Linked DNA regions of Homo sapiens: region 2 is linked to region 1. The links are contacts of gene promoters, found by promoter capture Hi-C in human tissues and cell types (Jung and others, 2019). All regions are on one chromosome and are shown on one strand. The core of a region is centred on a gene start or on the middle of the fragment in contact, and the rest is flanking DNA. Distances in the headings are between cores, read along the strand shown.

What was found. Contacts are between HindIII fragments. The study calls those that stand out against the background at their distance.
Region 2: a contact is called between a fragment that was not itself captured here and the fragment with the promoter of NIPAL2 in region 1, in 1 of the 25 tissues and cell types used here (mesenchymal stem cells).

Annotation. Positions count from the first base shown.
Region 1 is chr8:98,292,985-98,297,235 of GRCh38, reverse strand. NIPAL2 (NIPA like domain containing 2) reads left to right here and starts at 3,001. Exons shown (of 11, transcript NM_001321635.2): 1 at 3,001-3,233. The coding sequence starts at 3,099. All of the region lies in intron 5 of LOC105375659 (a long non-coding RNA gene), which reads right to left. RefSeq lists a silencer at 2,762-3,481. The HindIII fragment of the contact is 9,267 bases long and covers 1-4,251 here.
Region 2 is chr8:99,906,447-99,912,570 of GRCh38, reverse strand. No RefSeq gene overlaps it. Among named protein-coding and RNA genes, the nearest start is that of COX6C, 16 kb to the right of the region's middle. RefSeq lists a silencer at 4,063-4,263. The HindIII fragment of the contact is 5,482 bases long and covers 1,170-6,124 here.

The DNA.
Region 1 (4,251 bases), core at 1,752-4,251:
CACGAATTCTTCGTTTCAACCACCCACACACACTAGGACAGCAGCAACAGCAGTGACATCTTGGAATCTAGAGAACACCACGTGGTAGGCTGTACATCAAATCTTCTCTGCATCATGTACCATCTTCCTCCAAAATTAGAGGTTTTAAACAAATGTAAAGAAATTGAAAATGTTTTTTTAAATTAAGAAATAAAATGGGAACAAGTTGAGTATAGCAGAGTATCAACTAAAGGGAAAAAAATCAAGCTTTTAAAGAATTAAACTTAGTTTTATTCAGAAGTCTCACTGAATTGTTTGAGGCCAGGAGTTCTAGACCAGCCTGGGAAACATAATGAGACCCCATCTCTACAAAAAATTAAAAAAAAAAAAAAATTGTCTGGGCGTGGTGACTCACGCCTGTAATCCCAGCACTTTGGGAGGCTGAGGTGGGTGGATCATGAGGTCAGGAGATCGAGACCATCCTGGCTAACACGATGAAACCCAGACTCTACTAAAAATACAAAAAATTAGCTGGGCGTGGTGGCGGGCATCTGTAGTCCCAGCTACTCAGGAGGCTGAGGCAGGAGAATGGCGTGAACTCGGGAGGCGGAGCTTGCAGTGAGCCGAGATTGTGCCACTGCACTCCAGCCTGGGTGACAGAGCAAGACTCTGTCTCAAAAAAAAAAAAAGTGTGGACTTCATTATGGCAATAGGGAGGCTTCAAGGCATTTTAAACCAGAAAGTAACACAATCCATTTAGTATTTTGCTTGTTAGCAACTGTACAACTACTTACAATCTGGCTGATAGAAAAATACTAGAGTGGTTGTACCAGGGTTGACTGGTTCCCCTCCCCCATAACCCCATGGCATTCCCACTCATCCTGGTTGGTAGAGCTTACCTCTCACTAGGTTGGAAATACCCAAGAATCACTTTCCCAGCCTCCCTTGCTGGTAGAACATGGGCATGTGACCCAGTCCCAGCCAATGGGATCTGAGGTGAAAGGATGCCAGGAGGATTCTGGAAAAGGCTTTCCTCCCTCAATGGACAAGACCAGTACCTCAGGGATAGCAGAGCAGAAAGGTGGAAGTGACGACATAATAGAACCACATAGAGACACATTCCTCTGGAGATAGCAGATAATTATTGTTTAAGCCACTTTTATTTGGATACTCTGTTACTTGCACCCTAAAGCATGTGAAGAGAAAGAAGCATTAATGAAGTCACCAATATCAATGAATGTGATGTTATAGAAAACTTATCAGACAAGGCATGGCAGCTCACACCTGTAATCCCACCACTTTGGGAGGCCGAGGTGGGACAACTGTTTGAGGCCAGGAGTTCTAGACCAGCCTAGGAAAAATTGCGAGACCCTGTCCCTACAAAAAAATAGAAAAATATTAGCCAGGGCCAGGTGTGGTGGCTCACACCTGTAATCCCAGCACTTTGGGAGGCCAAGACAGGGGGATCACTGGAGGTTAGGAGCTTGAGGCCAGCCTGACCAACACCGTGAAACCCTGTCTCTACTAAAAATACAAAAATTAGCCGGGCTTGGTGGTGTGCACGTGTAGTCCCAGCTACTCAGGAGGCTGAGGCAGGAGCATTGTTTGAACCCAGGAGGCAGAGGTTGCAGTGAGCTGAGATTGTGCCACTGCACTGCAGCCTGGGCAAGAGAGAGAGACTCTATCTAAAAAAAAAAAAAATTAGCTGGGCATGGTGGCATGCACCTGTATGTAGTCCCAGGTGGGAGGATCACTTGGGCCCAGGAATATGAGGCTAAAGTGAGTCAAGATCACACCACTGCACTCCAGCCTGGGCAACAGAGCAAGACCCTGTCTCAAAAAATAAAATAAAATGTAATATAACAAATAGAGACCTTTTTCCTTCAGATATTTATTTGAAGTAAATCAGCCTCTTAAAATTGGGAATAGTTACCTACAATTGTTAGCTGTTCACTGAACATCTCGAGTGCTTAAGCAAGAAACTACACAATTTCTGAGACGACATGTCTTGTTTTTTCTGTATGTGAAATGACTTTTTCTCACTCTTTTCTCTCATTTGCACATTTCCCCTAAGAAACACTGAAAACTGTCCCTGCTCCCTTCTAGGCAGCAATTCTCTTTTCTTGAAGGTCTCTCTTTCATGAACTCATGGAAGTCAAAGCACATTATCTAAGAAAAACCTCAGCATTGTGTAAACAAAAGAAGGCAACTATCAGCCTTCAGGCAACAGTATAGAATCATGGTTTTTTTAAAGTGAGAAATACCCTACAGATCATTTGTGGTCACACATTAGAATTTGAATACAGGTAAAACCAGAACATCTCGTTAGAGTTCTTAAGATTAATAACAACATTTATCTTTCATCCTAAATTCATATATACAGTAGCTGGCAACTTTTCAGCAACTCCACCTGATCCCATCTGAAGCAAACCCAATCCAGTCATCGCACACTGGGGTCCTATGGCTACCACATTCCTCATTCAAGGAATATTTACTAAGGATCTATCAAGCACTGGCACTGAGATTCAATCGCTCGGATCTTTTTTTCTCATATTGCTTACAATATTTCTGGGAACTCATGACTTTTTCATATGCAATCAATTTTTAAAATATCGGTGAGAAACACTACATATGTGATAGAGGACTGGAATTGCCAGGTAGAGATGGGAGATGATAGCTGCTTTGGGTTAGTCAGTGTCTCCTCCTCTTCCATTGACTTGGACAAATGTTTACAACGGAGATGATCTGATTCTGGCCCCGACAGGCGCGGGGACCCGTTGCGGACGGCCGCGGGGATTGCCCCCTTGGGCAGTGCGGCCCCGAGGATGCAGACACTGGCCCAGCGGAAGGAGGGCGCGGTGCGAGCTGGACGGCCCCGGGAGGCCGCAGACCGCCGGGCTCCCCGAGGACACCTCGCACCGGAGGAGGAGAGGAGGCAGCGCCCGGCCAGGCTGGGAGCACCTACGGCCGCGCGGGGGCGGGAGCCAGGTGGCCTCGGCGCGCCCGCCTCGCCCGGGCACCGAGCAGGAAGTGGCTGCGGCGCGGCCTCCTCGCGGTGCAACAGGGCGGGGAGGCGGCCGCAGCCCGAGCCGGAGCCCGAGCGCCGGGAGCGAGACCTCATGGCAGCGGTGGCGCCCGCGGGCCCCGGGGACTCCGCCTCGGCCGCCCTGGACGAGCTGTCACTGAATTTCACGTACGGGGCACCAGGCGCCGGCAACGGCTCCCTCTCGGGCGACTGGTACCGCAGGAACCAGGTAAGGGCCGCCCCGCAGCCACCGCAGCCCGGTGGGGACGCGGCCAGGGCGGCTGGCTCCGGGCGCCTCTGCGCCTCGGCCGCTTTCCTGCCAGCTCTCAGGAAGACACCCGGCCTCTCCGAGTGGGAAGAGGTGACATGCAATGTTTCCCGCATTGACCTAAGTCCGCCTCATCCGGAAGCGCGGGGGTCCGCCCAGTCTTCCTCTCCCGGGCACCCGGCACTGGGAGTGGGCGCCCAGGTCTTCGGCCTTGACCTCAGCCACCCGTTCCTGGGACCTCCGGGTCCCGATCCCGCCTCCCCAGCCTGCGTCCGCCCTCTTCTCCCGGAAGGAATCTAGGAGTGTGGGGGCAATTCACTCATTTTCACCCCAGGATCCTTTTACAGTTAAAAGAAAAGAAAAAAGTGACACCCTGTTATCAGAAGCAGAAAACTCATTAAGGGCAGCCTAATGTCACCTCGCGCAGATGCCCTGCGTGTGTCCCTGGTATCTCAACACAGCTCTTCCATTTCCGTGCGAGGAACACATTTTCTCAGGTTGCATTTGCAGGACTCTCATTCTTTCCCACCGGCCCTTTGGGAAAACTTTGTTAACTTAAACAACGCCAGTTTACACTGGAAATATACATTTAACAAAATCAAAGGGACTTGGAGCCGCCCATTTATTTTTGGCTTGGTTTAAGATGAGGAAGTGTTCTGGCCAGCCCTTCCTCTAGCAGCGTTCATATTGCAACTAAGTTTTATCACGGTGGATTCCAGGCTTCCTCCTGTTTTCATTAAATGTGTTACTTTGTTCTTGTTCTTTAACAAAACCATGGATACTTTTATTTTTGCAACAATATAATCAGAAAATATTTGTTGCTGTTGTCCTAAATCGGAGAGTTTAACCAATTATCAAAGATCTGGATTCCTTTTATGCCTGAAGTGTTCTAAATATTAATTTCTGAATGCAGAAGAGAATATATTTGTATAAAGAATAAGTAAGATAAATAAGCATGTTCACTTTATTAGTTTTCAAG
Region 2 (6,124 bases), core at 2,661-5,160, 1.6 Mb before region 1:
TACATAAACTATAAATATCATCAACATTGATTTAAATGTAAAGATTATATGCAGAAAACAGTATGCTGGTTCCTCAGAAGATTAAACATAGAATTATTTTATGATCCAGCAATCCCCCTGTATTAGCCTGTTTTCATGCTGCGATAAATACATACCCAAGACTGGAAGGAAAAATAGGTTTAATGGACTCACAGTTCCACGTGGCTGGGGAGGCCTCACAATCATGGCAGAAGGCAAAAGGCACTTCTTACATGGCAGTGGCAAGAGAGAATGAGGAATAAGAGAAAGCGGAAACCCCTTATAAAACCATCAAATCTTGTGAGATTTATTCACTACCACGAGAACAGTATGGGGGAAACCATCCCCCTGATTCAATTATCTCTCACTGGGTCCCTCCCACAACCCAAGGGAATTATGGGAGCTACAATTCAAGATGAGATTTGGGTGGGGACACAGCCAAACCATATCACCCCCTTTCTGGGCATATCTGTGAAGAAACTCAAAGCAGGAACTCAAACAGTTATTTGCACATGCATATTTACAGCAGTGCTATTCACAATAGCCAAAAGGTGGATGCAGCCTCCTTTTGGACATATTTATTGACAAATAAATGGATATGCAAAATGTGGTATATACATACTGCTGTCATTTGGGTATGGTTTGTCCCCACCAAAACTCATGTTGAAAGTCAATCCCCAATGTGGCTGTGTTGGGAGGTGGGGCCTAGTGGGAGGAGTCTGGGTGATGGGGATGAATCCCTCACAGATGGCTTGATGCATTCTCACAGTAATGGGTTCTTGTTCTTGAGGGAATGGATTAGTTCCTACAAGAATGGGTTGTCATAAAGCCAGGATGCACCTCAGGTTTTGCCTCTCACGTGTTTCTGTTTCCCCTCTGACCTTCCACCATGTTGTGAGGCAGCACCAGCAGATGAGCTGATGTGTAGTAACAACACAATATGGACTAAGACACATGCAATGGATTATTATTCAGCCTTAAAATAGAAGGAAATTCTGACACATGCTACAGCATGGTTGACCTTGAGGACATTATGCTAAGTGAAATAAGCCCATCACAAAGAGACAGATATGGTATGATTCTACCTGTATGAGGAAACTAAAGTAGTCGATTCATAGAGACAGAAAGTAGAATGGTAGTTCCCAGGGTCATGGAGAAGGGGGACTGGGGAGTTGTTTAATGGGTATAGACTTTCTGTTTTGCAAGATAAAAAAGTCTGGAGATTGATTGTACATCCATGCAAATATACTTTATTGAACTGTACACTTGAAAATAGGAAAGATGGTAAATTTTATGTTATATATATTTTACCACAATTTTTAAGAAAACTTAAGAAAAGAACCCTTGAACCCAGAGTTTAGGCATGTCCCAGCAGAACCTTGGGCTATGTTATATATATTTTATGTATTTTACATATATTTTATAGGCTAATTCTGCCTCCACAGGCCCAAGCCTCAGGACGGCCCCTGAGGACATAGGCTCCCGGCTCCAGGCCAGCCTCTGGGGACTCAGGACTTGACCCTACAGGCAATGAGATAGCATTGACAAACTTATTCTGGAAAGAAAATGGACAGTTGTGCAGGAAGAGTGACCTAGGAGTCACTGGTGTGCCCGCCTTCAGCCTCGGGTGGGTGGGGGATTATTCATTCTTGCTCTTGCTTCTTCCCAACCCTCCCTCCCTTCTTCCTTTCCCTTTCTTTCCTTCAACAAATACTTATGAGTGCCAGGAACTTCAGTGTGTTACTATGGACAGATTGTGTTACTATGGACAGATTGTGTTATACATAACACAATGTGCTACTATGTGTTATATATAACACTATATATATATATATATATATATATCACTATATATATGTGTTATATGTATAATACATATATTATGTGTATGTGTTATGTATATATAATGCATATATATTATATGTATGTACATATAATACATATATTATAGATTATATGCATGTGTTACGTATCACACATACATATAATATATATGTATATATAATAAATGAATATATAATATGCAAGTTATATATAACACATATATATGTGTGGCTAATTTTCTTTTTATTTTTGTAGAGATAGGGACTCACTATGTTGCCCAGGCTGGTCTTCAACATATATATGTGTTATATACAACACATACATATGTTATATATAACACAATGTGTTACTATGGATAGTCAGTGTTCTCTGGGGTGTGGGACACCTTTCACTGCAATATGATTTTAAGTGGTACATGGGCACTGCATTTTTTTAAATCACAAAAATTGCAAGAGGAAAAAAAGAGATAGAGGGAAAACCAGTAAATTAGAAGACATATCAACCAATTACAATGCATGGCCCTTATTTGGATCCTGATTCAAGCAGTTAAAAAAAAGACACTTGGAAATTTGAACATTGGATATTTGATGACACCAAGAGATATCATTGTTTCAGGTATGATAATGATATACTAGACAATATCTTTTAGAATATATAACGAAATATTTACCAATGAAATTATGTAATATCTGAGATTTGCTTCAAAGTGATCAGTGAGGGGAGGGGCTGGGGGATTGGGATGAAAACAAGATGCTTCATGGTTTGACTGTTGCTGCTGCTGAGTGATGGGGCCTTTCATCATACCAGTGTGTCAACTTGGCACATATTTGCAATTTTCCAAATTGAACATGTTGAATGATATAATGAAAAAGTTAATGCCTTTTTGGTACTCTTTCAATCAATCTGACTAGACCAGACTAGACTAAGTGGAAAGGCTCTAATTTTTTTTTTAACTGTTTTTTGAGAAAACAACAACAACAAAACTCCAGGCTGGAGTGCAGTGGTGAGATTGCGGCTCACTGCAGCCTCAGCCACCTGGGCCCAAGTGATCCTCCCACCTCAGCCTCCCCAGTAGTTGGGACCACAGGCGTGCACCACCACGCCTGGCTAATTTTCTTTTTCTTTTTGTAGAGATAGGGTTTCAATATGTTGCCCAGGCTGGTCTTGAACTCCTGGGTTCAACCAATCCTCCCAGCTTAGCCTCCCAAAGTTCTGGGATTACAGGCGTGAGCCACCATGCCTGGCCTAACTTTTTTTTTTATAAAGTCGAGCTCAGAGCCTTCAACTAGATATTAATAAAATTATTTGGTTTTTGGCCTGGCACAGTGGCTCATGCCTGTAATTCCAGCACTTTGGGAGGCTGAGACAGGTAAATCGCTTGAGTCCAGGAGTTTGAGATCATCCTGGGCAACATGGTGAAACCTTATCTCTACAAAAAATACAAAAAAGAGTAGCTGGGTGTGATGGTGCACACCTGTGGTCCAAGCTACTTGGGATGCTGAGATGGGAGAATCGCCTGAATCTGGTAAGCAGAGATTGCAGTGAGCCAAGATCATGCCACTGCACTACAGCCTGGGTGACAGAGTAAGATACTGTCTCAAAAAAAGAAAAATATTATTTGGTTTTCAAGTGATCCTGACATAAGTTCCGCTATGATATAAATTTTATACAAAATTTATTTTAAAAATTATTTTAAAATGTATAATTTGGTGTATGTCATTTATATATAATAAATCTTTCAAACAAAAATGTTAGTAGGTATGAACTTTATACAATGTGCTCCCATGTGCAAAAGTTGTAATTTTATTTCTCTATAACTGAACTCAGGTTAGTTCTTGTGCCCTATTTCTTCTTCAGCAACAGAAAGTATGACTAAATTCAGTCAATCCTGATTTAAAATTGGATCTTTTCTGGGGTCAGATCAGAATCCTTGTTAGAATTATGCCCCCTCCTCCTTCTCTTCTCTCTGGACTGACTGATTCTTACTCTGTTGTCAGGGAAAAACAGGGTGCCAGGTCTCCTCTGTTCCTTCACAGGGTGCAGTTTCCTGAGTCCTTCATACTATGCCTGAGCATTGGCTCCTGAAGTCTATTTTTTTCCCTTCTCACCTGCCTTCTGGCTTTGTAAGGTCCACAGCTCAATCTCAGAACCCATCTGCCTGGGGGAGAACATGGGAACTTTTAGGCTGTTCTATAGCCTTGCTATTCAAAATGTGGTCTGTGGATCAGCAACATCAGTATCACTTTGGAACTTGATAGAAATTTAGACTCTCAGGCCTCACCCCAGACCTGCTGAGTCAGAATCTGCATGACGTTAATGTTTAAGAAGCACTGCTCTGCAGCACTTGCGAGAATTGGCCTGAACCCCCTCTCTGCCACTGATGAAGCATCAAGCTCCAGCTACCTCTTCCCTGCTCCTTCTCCTCTCATCTAATTTTATTTCCCTTTGAGCAGAGAATCATGTATATTTTGGACATATTGCTTATCCTGTTTTTATAATCCTGCTTTCTGATAGACGCTTCCCTTTCCTTAAAAAGAAAAGAAAAATTTTCTCTTTCCTCAAAAAGATAAATCAGGTTGGGTCGGTGGCTCATGCCTGTAATCCAGCACTTCGGGAGGCCGAGATGGGAGGGTCACTTGAGTCCAGGAGTTTGAGACCAGGCTGGGCAATATAGTGAGGCCCCATCTTAAAAAAAAAAAAAAAAAAAAAAAAAAAGATAAATCAAAAGACATGGCTTTGAAGACTATTTGCCTGCTGTGTGGTTTAAATCACTTCAACAAGTTGATCACCCTTGAGCATAGTGTGCATGCATAGAAAGCTCTTCCTCTCAGGTGAATGGTGGAGATAGAAACTTTGGGAAATCCCAAGTTAGTGTCCCAAAATTTTGATGGCTGTATATTTTTTTAAATGAGTCAATCTAAAGAAAAATATTAAGTACATAATAGTATAGGGATGTGCAAATAATTGAAGCTTACAAAACTCTAGGTTAGGCTTCGGGCACCCTAGAACTCTCTCCTGGGGGTGCACCCATCTTTACTTGTCTTGAGTCAATCTCTCTCTCTAGAAGGCAGAGGGGGATAGCACAGGTAATTGATCCACTGAGCTTAATGCTACCAATAATGGGAATAGCTGATGATATTAAAGATACAGGAAGCTTGGAGGACAGTGTTTGTTGTTCAGGTGAGAAACAGGGGCTCTGTAGGACTCTGGGAGCTCTCTAGAGTTTGGAACTGAGCTACGTTCATACTTACTTCCACAGAAACTACCACAAAGTCTGGCATATAGTAGCCTCAGTAAACATTTGTAGAATGGGCACCTGAGACTAAAAGAAAACAGAATATTTGTGTTTCTTAAATTATTTAGAGAAAAGCTAGATATGGTCTGATTCCACTTAAAATGGAATGGCTTAAGAGGAATGAGAAGACCTAAAAGTGAAAATATAATGAAAGGAAAAAATGAAAATTAAAATATAATTCTGGATAATCTCAACATGGAAGAAAACAGGAACACCAAAACAAAATTAATGTGGTTGCTCAGGGAGTGAGTTTGGTTGAAAAGCCTATATATGGCTGGGCACGGTGGCTCACGCCTGTAATCACAGCACTTTGGGAGGCCAAGGTGGGTGGATCATAAGGTCAGGAGTTCGAGACCAGCCTGGCCAATATGGTGAAACCCCATCTCTACTAAAAATACAAAAATTAGCCAGGTATGGTGGCACGTGCCTGTAGTCCCAGCTACTCGGGAGGCTGAGGCAGAAGAATCGCTTGAACCCGGGAGGCAGAGGTTGCAGTGAGCCAAGATTGTGCCACTGTCGCCTGGGCGACACAGCAAGACTTTGTCTCGAAAGAAAGAAAGAGAGAGAGAGAGAAAGAAAGAAAGAAAGAAAGAAAGAAAAGAAAGAAGGAAAGAGAGAGAGAAAGAAAGAAAGAGAGAGAGAAAGAAAGAAAGAAAGAAAGAAAGAAAGAAAAAAGAAAGAAAGAGAAAGAAAGAAAGAAAGAAAAGAAAGAAAGAAGGGAAGGAAGGAAAGGAAGGAAGGAAGGAAGGAAGGAAGGCCTATATACAAAAGAGGAAATGAAAGCTATATGACCCAAGTTGGATATAGCAAGAATACTCACTTGTAAGAATGCCAAGAAGGCTGAGGATTGGTCTGAGGCTTGCAAATAATGCTCAAAACATTCTATTGTTTTAAATGGAAAGTATCAAACTTCTTGTATATGCAAAAGTGGACAGAAGTTTATAGTACTCATGTACTCCCACGTACTCATGATCCAGCTAAAATAGT